3 separate regions of the Homo sapiens genome follow, and all the other regions are linked to region 2. The links are contacts of gene promoters, found by promoter capture Hi-C in blood cells and fetal thymus (Javierre and others, 2016). All regions are on one chromosome and are shown on one strand. The core of a region is centred on a gene start or on the middle of the fragment in contact, and the rest is flanking DNA. Distances in the headings are between cores, read along the strand shown.

Region 1 (3,209 bases), core at 1-2,500, 960 kb before region 2:
AAAAAAAAAAAATTGGCCAGGTGTGGTGGCGGGCGCCTGAAGTCCCAGCTACTTGGGAGGCTGAGGCAGGAGAATGGCATGAACCAGGGAGGCAGAGCTTGCAGTGAGCCAAGATCACGCCACTGCACTCCAGCCAGGGCAACAAAGAGAGACTCAGTCTCCAAAAAAAAAAAAAAAGAAAAAAAAACTTAGAAATTCTTTGCTCAAGTATCACTTCCTCCAGGAAGTCTTCCTGACCCTCTCCCAGACCCCACCCACCCTCCATCCAGTTGGCTGCTCCAGGTTGTGTGGTGGGGGGAATTTCACAGCACTTTGTGTTAAGCGCTGACTTATCCCTTGTATAATACTTTCATTGACTGTAGTCCCTAATACTGGACTGAGCTCCTTGAGCGCAGAGACTGTGAGTCTTACCTGTTTTGGCATTCCTAGACACACCTGGTCTGTGGAAAGTGCTCACTAAATGTGAATATAAACTAATGAATAAATGGGTTTCTACAGCAGTTTATACTGCATCACACAGTTCCTCTAATGAATTTCTAGCCCCCTTCCCTGTTGGGGCATACAGTATTTTATTCAGTATTTCTCCTGAAGGCCTCTCTGTGCCAAGCTCAGTTTTAACCAAAACATTGGTGATCTGGTTAAGTCATTACTGAATTATCCACTACGTTGAATTCTCCCAACCACCCCGTCCCAGCCCTTAGCTTGGCCGAAGGAAAATTAATTGGTTGCAAAGTGCGTATCTAATTACAACAGCCAGCCCCCGACACAGAGATGCTCAAATGTTAATTATAACATATGCATCTCAATAACCGACGGTGGCATTTAGTGCAGCATTAATCACGCCACTTGGGCCCCCCAGTGCATACACAAAGCTCCTTTTCATCTGCCATTAGCACAGACTTTGCACTTTCGGCACGGACGTTCTCATCCTTAAAGCCTTTCGGACTCTAAAACCAACGTTTCCCTGTAAGCCTGGACTGCGCCTAAGCCCCCAGTTCTCCCACCGCAGAGGCCCCCACCCAGGGCTGCGCCAGCGCCGTGGGGTCGCTGGGCGGCGGGTTTTGGCGTCGCTAGACTGGGCTGTCTTGGCAGCTAAGGCGACATCCCGAGCGTCCTGGGGCCACCCTGCTCTCCAGGGCCCGCCATCCTGGAAAAGAAAGGCGAACTACATTACCCAGCAGGCCTCCAGCCGCCCTCTTTCCTTTCAAGTCTTTGCACGTGGCCGGAGGGGAGGGCGGGGCCTGAACGTCACTCTCCTACATTCTCTTTCCCTGTGTCAGATCAGGGATCATTTTTTTTCCTTCCTCTACTCCCTCCCCCCTACCCGCCCCTCCCTCCCTGTTTCCCTTCCCTCCCTCCCTCCCCTCTCTGCTGGGTCTGTGCGCTGGGGCGCCCGATCCCCTCCGCAGCTGGGACGCTCCGAACTCGAGGCAGGAGTCGGCTCTCCGGAGCCTCGTCCCTCCCTTCCCCTTCCCTGCCCCCTTCCCCCACCCCCGACTCGGGCTTGGCGCGGCGGCCAGAGGAACCCCGAGGTGAGCATCTCCTCGCCCGTCCTCCTCTTATAGTCATCTCAGCTTGCTGATCGATTCGGGGACCCGGGAGGAGGGCTGCGTGACGTGGGCGTGCTTATAGATAAATCCGGGAAAACCGCCCCAAACAATCAGCCCCCTTCCCCCCATCCCTGCTCCTGGGCCAGCGGGGTGTCCGCACCCATCTACCATCCCCTCCTCCCCCTCGGTGGGGAACTGCACTCCACAGTGTCGCCCCCTCCCTGGGTTTGTCCCATTCCCTGCCGGGTTCCCCGCCCCGCGGGGTGTCGTGGCCCTGGAGCTCCGGCGCCAAGGGGGGCTCTTGGGGGACGCACGGCTGGAGCCCGGCTCGCTTTGGAGCTGCGCGGTGTAGCCGCTGTCATGTGCCGGGTTCCGACCTGGGAGGAGGAAAAGAGCGAGCGCGATTCCTCTCCCTTTTGTTTTGAAGCCCGCATTTGCTGCATCGAGCAGTTGGTTTAGTATCAGCCAAACTTGCAGCTGTTCAGACCGCGCTCCGCCGAGGTAGGGAGCCCGTCTCGGGGTGGCGTTTGGGGGCCGGGGGCTGCGGCACTCGGGGCTGCGGGAGGGACCCCGAGAGTGTGTCGCCACGCCGCCCCTCCCTTCCCCGGTGACTGATTGTGTCTGTGGCAGCGGGCGTGTGTGAGTGTGCGCGCCCGTCCCCGCGGGCTCGGGGATGTCTGTGGATGGCTGTCGTCTAGACAGGGCGCAGCCCCCTCCCTGCGTCCCCGGTGAGCCCGCGGGCCGCGGGGGGAGCGGGGGATGGGAGCAGAGGAAGAAACCAAATCGGTGGACCCGTTGCGGTCTCCCCTTTGGTTATTCCCAACGGTTGTGGTTCTGTTGGCTTTTTTTATTATTCCTGTCGCTGCGGTGCAATCGGGCCTGGGGAATAGATACGCCCGGCGGAGAGGGGTTCACTTGACAGGCTCTGAAAAGCCACCTCTGGGTGGCGAGTGACCCGAGAGGCCGTGGGGTGGGCTCCGGCTCGGGTTCATCAGGACGACGAGCAGGTAACTGTCCCGGGCGCCGGTCATGGGGGAGGGCGGGCGGGGGGGCGATGGCTTGGGCTGCGGCGAAGGTCTGGGGCCTCGGAGGGCCGCGTGCCGGTGCCTGGATGTGGCCGGAGGGGGCGTCCGGGACACCGCGCGCCTGAGCCGAGTGTTTCTCTATTGATGGTAAAAGACAATCGGGAGGGGGGTGGTCCGAGCCCGTTATCTGGGCGGCGTTGGCTCTGTTTGGTTCCGCGGAGTTTTCAGGGTTGGGGCTGGGGGGTGTGAGCACCGCGGGGTGTGCGGCGTGTAGAGGGGAGGGCTGACTGGCGGCGCCGCGTGCGTCTCCACCCCGAGGAGTGAGGCGTCGCCTCCCCCGCCCGGCTGTTTGTGTGTACACACGGCTCCGGTGTGTGTGGGGGGCGGGGACCGCAGACCGCGGCGTAGTGGGGACAAGCGTGGGCCCCGATCCTCCGCGCGACCTGTCCCGCCAGCCCCCTCCTTGTCTAAGTCGGGGTCGTGTGTCCCCGCGCGCGCGCGCCCGAGTTACTTGGAGAGGGGACCGTGCGGCTGTGGGCCGGGGAAGACCGTAGGGTCGCGTGTGCTGGTCTTCGGTGCAGGAGTCCCAGGTCCGCTGTGCGGCCGGAGTCACACAGCCCCTCCCTCCGCGTCC
Region 2 (3,540 bases), core at 681-3,180:
GACTTCTATTGGGTTCTGCCTAGTGGTAACCGCCGAGGCTTCGCTTACTCTGTAGATCTCCCGGGAGCAGCAGGAAACAAGAAACCCTTAGCCTTTTCAAAGTAATAGCCATTCTCCTCACTGACCTGACAAAGACGGATGTCAAGTGGGCCCTGCAGGAGTTTGACAGTTTGTCCAAACAACTGTTTTTAGTTGAGGCTATAAATTCTTAGGAAAGGGTTTGTCAGTGTGGCACATTAAATCAGTTGGCCAGTATGCATTACTCTGACCATCTTCTTAGAAAGCAACGTCTTTGGGGATTTTCAGATGAGTGAATATTCAATGCTCTGTCTTTTAGCATTATCATCCACTTCCCCTGCCCCTCATAGAATTCTCTTTAGAGGATTGGCTCCTGGGCCTCCAGGAGAGCGGGCAGTAGGGTAGGGTGGTGGGAGGAGAGGAAAGTCTTAATCCCTTGCCAGGGATTTACTTTGTTCTTCTCAGTCGGAGCCTCCCGTACAATGCTGTTTTGAGCTTCACTTAGAAATTGGCTTTATTAGCTAGGAAAGGGGAATTCTTTTCACAACAATCGGAAAATGTAATCCCTTAGTCAGGCGGCTGGAGTCCTTTAATTCACCTCTCCGGACCTTGGGCTGCTGGCTGCTCCTCTCTGCCGCCTGGCTGTCTCTCCCTTACCTCCCAGAGTTAGGGTAATAGCTGACATTTTTCTTCACTAGGCTTTCCTAAGGGATTTCATTCCATTTGTGAGACACTTTAATTCCTGAAGCTGCAAAGTTTGCTTTTTATTACTATAGCTCTACTTATTCTGCATAATTTTATTTATTATTTGTTTATGTATTTATTTTTTGAGACAGAGTCTCGCTGTGTTGCCCAGGCTGGAGTGCAGTGGCGCCATCTCAGCTCACTGCAACCTCTGCCTCCTGGGTTCAAGCAATTCTCCTTCCTCAGTCTCCTGAGCAGCTGGGACTACAGGCACGTGCTACCACGCCCAGCTAAGTTTTGTATTTTTAGTAGAGACGAGGTTTCATCATATTGGCCAGGCTGGTCTCGAACTCCTGACCTTGTGATCCACCTGCCTCAGCCTCCCAAAGTGCTGGGATTACAGGCGTGAGCCACCACGCCTGGCTTATTCTGCATAATTTTTAAGAGTTGTGAATTGTTTTAAGATCAAATTTAAAAGTACATTTTCTTTCTTATCTTGTCATTAACTGATGTTGGGTATGTGTGTGTGCTTGTGATTTCCCTGGCTGGACCAGTGTATAACTTCAAAGAGGGCTGGTGCCTTGCCTTTAGTCTGCTGGATAGCACTCCTCCAGACCCTCCCTTTGCTGAGCAGCTCCGTGGACCTGTGCAAATCTCTACCCAGCTTTGTTGGACAACAAAATACCCTGGAGAATATCAAGCCCTTTAACATACCCAGTTTGTGCTCCCAGACGTAAGATCTCTTTGGCCATGTATGTGGGATTCCCATGAAGGAGAAGCTTCATTTCCAGCAAGAATCTGGCTTCCACCTAGACTTGGGAAACAGATACTGAAAAGCATATTGCTGATCAACTAGACAACCTACTTCCACTCTTGATTGCCCCTGTAATCCATCTAGAACAGCCAGAGCAATTTATTTATTAAAAAATTTAAAATTGGCCAGGTGCGGTGGCTCACGCTTGTATCCCCAGCACTTTGGGAGGCCGGGGTGGCAGATCACTTGAGGCCAGGAGTTAAGATCAGCCCGGCCAACATGGTGAAACCCTGTCTTTACTAAAAATAGAAAAAGTTGCCAGGCAAGATGCCTTACGCCTGTAATCCCAGCACTTTGGGAGGCCAAGGCAGGTGGATCACGAGGTCAGGAGATGGAGATTATCTTGGCTAACACGGTGAAACCCCATCTCTCTCTACTAAAAATACAAAAAATTAGCCGGGCATGGTGGCACACGCCTGTAGTCCCAGCTACTTGGGAGGCTGAGGCAGGAGCATGGCTTGAACCTGGGAGGCGGAGGTTGCAGTGAGCCGAGATCGCACCACTGCACTCCAGTCTGGGTGACAGAGCGAGTCTCTGTCTCAAAAAAAAAAAAGAAAAAGAAAAAAGAAAAGAAAAGAAAAAATTAGCCGGGCATGGTGGTGCGTGCCTGTAATCCCAGGTACTCGGGAGGCTGAGGCAGGAGAATCTCTTGAACCCGGGAGGCAGATGTTGCAGTGAGCCAAGATCGCACCATTGCACTCCAGCCTGGGTGACAGAGTGACTCCATCTCAATAAATAAATAAATAATAAGTAAAATTTTAAAATTATTCAAAAATTTAAGATTATTTATATGTGTTTTATAGAAAGTCAGATATAGCAGGTAAGCAGATTAAGAAAATAAAATCCTTATATTTCCAAAAGATTAAGCTTTAATATATCCTTCTAGTATAGTGTGAGATATATACTTCATGTGTGTATGTATATACATATATACTTACCAGGTGAAATTATACTGTACATGCTATTTCATAATCAGATTTTTTTCCAGTTAATCTCAATTTTACCATGTTGATACATTTTCATCTCTTCTAATACCTAACCTCAATTTCAGTTATCCCAGTTGTTCCCCAAATGTCCTTTCCAGTTGGTTTGTTCAAAGCAAGACCCGCCAGGCACACTGACTCACACCTGTAATCCCAGCACTTTGGGAAGCTGAGGCAGGCAGATCACTTGAGGCCAGGAGTTCGAAACCAGCTTGGCCAACATGGTGAATCCCTGTCTCTACTAAAAATAGAAAAAATTAGCAGGGTGTGGTGGCACACACCTGTAGTCCCAGCTACTCTGGAGGCTGAGGCATGTGAATTGCTTGAAGCTGGGAGACAGAGGTTGCAGTGAGTTGAGATCATGTCACTACACTCCAGCCTGGGTGACAGAGCAAGGCTCTGTCTCAAACAAACAAACAAACAAACAAACCAACCAACCAAAGCAGCCACACACACACAAAAAAACCAGAAACAAAGCAAGACCCAATCTAGGTCCCACATGACATCTGGTTGTTGTTTCTTTTTATTTTATTTTTGAGACAGAGGCTTGCTGTCACCCAAGCTAGAGTGTATTGGCGCGATCTCGGCTCACTGCAACCTCTGCCTCCGGGGTTCAAGTGATTCTCCTGCCTCAGCCTCCTGAGTAGCTGGGATTACAGTCGCCCACCATCACGCCTGGCTAATTTTTGTATTTTTAGTACAGACTGGGTTTCACTATGTTGGCCAGGTTGGTCTTGAACTCCTGACCTCAGGTGATCTGCCCGTCTCGGCTTTCCAAAGTGTTGGGATTACAGGCATGAGCCACCGTGCCTGGCCAGGTTGTTCTCTTTCATAATCAGTTTTAGAATCAGAAAATTTAACATTTACTATAATAATATTATCTAACCTAGAGACCATATTTAATTGCCGCCAATTTTCCCAACAATATCTTTTATAGAATTTTTTTTGGACGAAGAGCCAAATTCAGAATAAGGCATTGTGTTTGGTTGCCATGTCTCTTTATTTTTCTTTAATCTGAATAGCTTGGCATTCTTTGTAAAA
Region 3 (3,528 bases), core at 876-3,375, 550 kb before region 2:
CCCGCCGGTCCGCTCGGCACTCGCGCGGGGGACACGGGGCTGCCCATTCCTAGCGCACTCGGGAGATGCATCCCAAGCGTGCTGGGGAACGTGGGGGATCTGCGGGCGCCCGGGGTGAACCCTCACATCACACTCTGTGTACAGAGACGTAGAGTAAAGGAAGGAATGGAGAAAGCTGAGAGGATAAAAGGAAAGGAGTTTCAGGGTCTCAGCCGAGAAGCCCAGGCCCCAGCGCAGTAAGAGGCGACAACGTCACTGAGGCGCCGGGGCCCCACTAATCTACAGACTTATCTGTGCGGAAGGAAGGAAAAAGTAGGGGACACCCAACTTCTCCTGCCTGTTTGTTCCTCTGCACCCTGGGGCTGGCAGAGTTGAAAGGAGACAGATACCCAGTTCGGCCTTCCATCCAACTCTCTTTGCCCCAAAACTCCAAAGGTGCGCGGCCACGACAGTATCTGGGCCACTGGTGTTCGACGTGATTCTCCGTATTTACTAAAGGAGTAAATACGGAGACCTTCCAGCCTTTATAGCACGCCTCTCCCAGCCTTCCTTGGCGGGCCTGGACCAAATCCAACTCGGCCACACACCTCAACGTCTTTCCGGGTGCGGGGAGGCGTGACCCCCCCACCTCCCTCTGCACCCCCTTGTTGATCCGGAAATGAAGGCGTCTAATTTTTAACCGCAGACTGCAGGAGCAGTGCCCGTAGACCCCTTCGGGGCAACACAGGAGAAAACCTGGAAGGGAACCCCCAGGGAATGCCCTTTGAGTTTCCCCTTGTCCCTTCTCTACTTTCAGCCCCCAGTCTCTTCCCAGGAGGGTATGCACACTCTCCCAGGAGGGTATGCACACTCTCCCAGGAGGGTATGCACACTCCCCCTGGAGGGATGGCTGCACAAACGCACTGCCCTAGGGGCTTTTCTTCCAGCACTGGCGCTCCGGAAAATGTTGGGGGTAGGGGGACAACTTCTCACCTAGTTCGCAGAGTCGGCTAAGGTGATGGGGGTTGCAGCACACCAGCTCGGGGTTGATCTTCCCGTAAGATTCACAGCAACACAGCCTCTTGACTTCCGAGGAATGCCTGAGATCCGGCCACCTGAACACTTTGCACAGCAGGAGGGGGAGCGAGTAGGACGAGGGCGGCTGCGCAGGCTGCGCGCCGGCGGGCGCCCCCGGGCCCAGCCTGCAGTCCAGGCGGCCGGGCAGCAGGAGGCACGCGGTGCGCGTCCCGCCGCGGGACTCCACGGCCTGGAGCAGCAGCTCCAGCTGCCGCTCCTTCAGTTTCTTGAGCACCGAGTGCGTGAGCGCCTTCAGATCCGCCTCGGCGCCCCCGGCCGCGCCGGCGCCCGCGGCTGGCGGGTGGGGATGGTGGTGACCTTTGGCACCTCGCACCGCCTTGCCCAGGCAGCATCCAGCCCTGCCCGGGCCGCCGCCACCGGCCCCATGCGCTCGGCTGTCCGTCGCCCCTTCTCCCCGCAGCTCGCCTCCTCCTCCACCTCCCCCTGCGCCCTCCTCCTCGTCCTCGCCGCCGGGCGCACGGCTCCTCCAGAGACGCCGGACGAGCGCAGATCGTTTGGTCCTGAACATGCGGGGCGAGGAGGCGAGGAGAAAAGTCGTTTGCCTGCTAAGGAGCGAACATGACCTCCGCACACCATGAAGAAGTCGGGCGCCGAGTTGGGGCAGCAGGCGCAGGCGACAGCAGCAGCAGCAGGGGCCCGGGCAGGAGCGGCGGCGGCCCGAGGGGCGCTCCGTGGCATGCGCCAGTCTCCCGGAGGCCGGGGCGCGCGCGGGGGCCCGGGGGCGCCCGCCGGGGATCGGGGGCCTGCGCTCCGGCTGCCCCACCCCGCGCGGCCCGCGCCCTGCGCGGCTCTCCGGCCCCGGCGCGCCCCGGAGGAACCCGGCCGCCGCTTCCCTGGGGACGGCCGAGCCTGCCCCCGTCGGCGCCTCCCCAAAAAGAGGCCCCCCCGCAGTGGCTCCCGAATGTCGGGCTCGCCAGCCTCGGCTTCCTACATGGAAGGTCCGCGGGGGCAAAAAACGAAAGGCGTTCGGCTGGGCTGTTGGAAGAAGGAAAAAGCCTCTTTCCCCCTTGCTAAGCAACTTAATTTGGGGGTGGGGAGAAGCAGGCAATTAAAAAAAAAAAAGCAAGCGATTTATTTTTTTCCTCTATATCCTTAGTAACCGGATCTCCTCGAATTCCGCGCACACGAAGACTCAGGGGAGGGGGCCGAGTGGACTTCACCCCGCATGAGACGTCTGGCAAAATAAGAAGGCTCTCGCAAAACCTAACAACCAAATATGCAAAGCCCCAAATGAAAACCACCACCTCCTCGAACCTCAGAGGTCTGGGGGCGTCCGGCTGGAACTGGGGTTTAAAAAAAGAAAATGTTTACAAAGTATAACAAGATGTTTGATGGGTGGAAAAATGTATCCACGAGTTACATCCCCCCGTTTCCTTGCAAAGCCCCGCTGGTCTTCCTCTCCTTTTCTTCTGCCAAAAAAAAAAAAAAAAATCGTGTATTTTTTTAATCCACAGAAAGCTTTGGCTAGACCGCTTCAATCCTGCGCATCTGGGTGGTTTAGGGGAGTCTCTGGTCTTTCCCCCTGCGCTCCTGGGGGCCCAGGTCCTCGGCGGGGACTTCCTCGAGGCTGGCGCGGGCGCAGGGGCAGAAGATGCTGCGGCGGCGGCTGAGCCCGGCGGGGCTGACAGCGCGGGGGAGGGTGGCGCGGCGGCGGCGGAGGGCCCCAGACGGGTCGCGCGTTCTCGCCCCCCCCGGGCACAAGCTGCTTGCTAGTGCAGGGGCCGCCGATGTCCCTTCCCCTGGCCGCGGCTGGCCGCCGAGGCTCCCCGCATGGGCTGCTCGCCTCGACCCAGCTGCGGCGGCAGGAGGCCCCGGTGTCCTCTCGGCGCCTCCTCCTCCGAGACTCTCCTCGTCGCGCCCGGGAGCCTCCTTGTCCCCGGTCCGCCCTCTCCTGGCGCTCCGGTCCTTCTGCCGCCGCCAGGGGCTCGCCGCGCCGCACTCAGGGGCTCAGGGGCCGGGCGCTCGGCGGCTCGGCGCCGACGGACTGGCTCTGTCTCGGGCAGCTCTCTCCCGCGCGGCGAGCGGACCGAGCACGGCGCCCGGCTGGCTCGGCTGGCGCGGCTCGGGGACAGGATCTTCCGTGCGCCGAGCAGCAAGCGAGTGTGCCCGGGGCTCACCGCCTCCCGCAAGGCCTCCCGCCCCCGCCCCCTTCCCTCCCCCTTCCTCCCCCTTCCCTCCCCCGCCCCCAGCCGCCGCAGCCGCGCCGCCTCCTCCCCGCCCCCCCGCACCCCCCCTCCGGCCCTCTGCTCGGCTGGTTCCACTGCGCAGTGGCGCGCCCGGCTCCGGCCTCGTCACGTGGCCGTCTAGACACCCTGTCGCTTTAAAAAAAAAAAAAAAGCGATTGTGTTTCGCAAACAACAGATCGGGTTTCTAAAAGCTATTTCTCCCCCCAACCCCCCGCCACCGCCACCCCCTCCCGGGTCTGTAGAGGGGGTACCGATGGAGGGGAGA

The links. The method cuts DNA at HindIII sites, captures the fragments that hold promoters and counts their contacts. A CHiCAGO score of 5 or more calls a contact.
Region 1: a contact is called between the fragment with the promoter of CTIF here and a fragment that was not itself captured in region 2, in 1 of 17 cell types (fetal thymus). The highest score is 5.8, in fetal thymus.
Region 3: the fragment with the promoter of SMAD7 here is called in contact with a fragment that was not itself captured in region 2 in 1 of 17 cell types (neutrophils); the score reaches 7.3 in neutrophils.

Annotation. Positions count from the first base shown.
Region 1 is chr18:48,537,781-48,540,989 of GRCh38, forward strand. CTIF (cap binding complex dependent translation initiation factor) reads left to right here and starts at 1,251. Exons shown (of 12, transcript NM_014772.3): 1 at 1,251-1,532. RefSeq lists silencers at 1,357-1,436, 1,937-2,296, 2,727-2,816, 3,137-3,209. The HindIII fragment of the contact is 7,178 bases long and covers 1-3,209 here.
Region 2 is chr18:49,500,221-49,503,760 of GRCh38, forward strand. The region is part of intron 2 of LINC02837 (long intergenic non-protein coding RNA 2837); the gene reads left to right. Among named protein-coding and RNA genes, the nearest start is that of LINC02837, 2.6 kb to the left of the region's middle. RefSeq lists an enhancer at 1-600. The HindIII fragment of the contact is 902 bases long and covers 1,480-2,381 here.
Region 3 is chr18:48,948,840-48,952,367 of GRCh38, forward strand. SMAD7 (SMAD family member 7) reads right to left here and starts at 2,126. Exons shown (of 4, transcript NM_005904.4): 1 at 973-2,126. The coding sequence starts at 1,585. RefSeq lists silencers at 1-23, 1,064-1,383, 2,600-3,299. The HindIII fragment of the contact is 3,263 bases long and covers 1-2,533 here.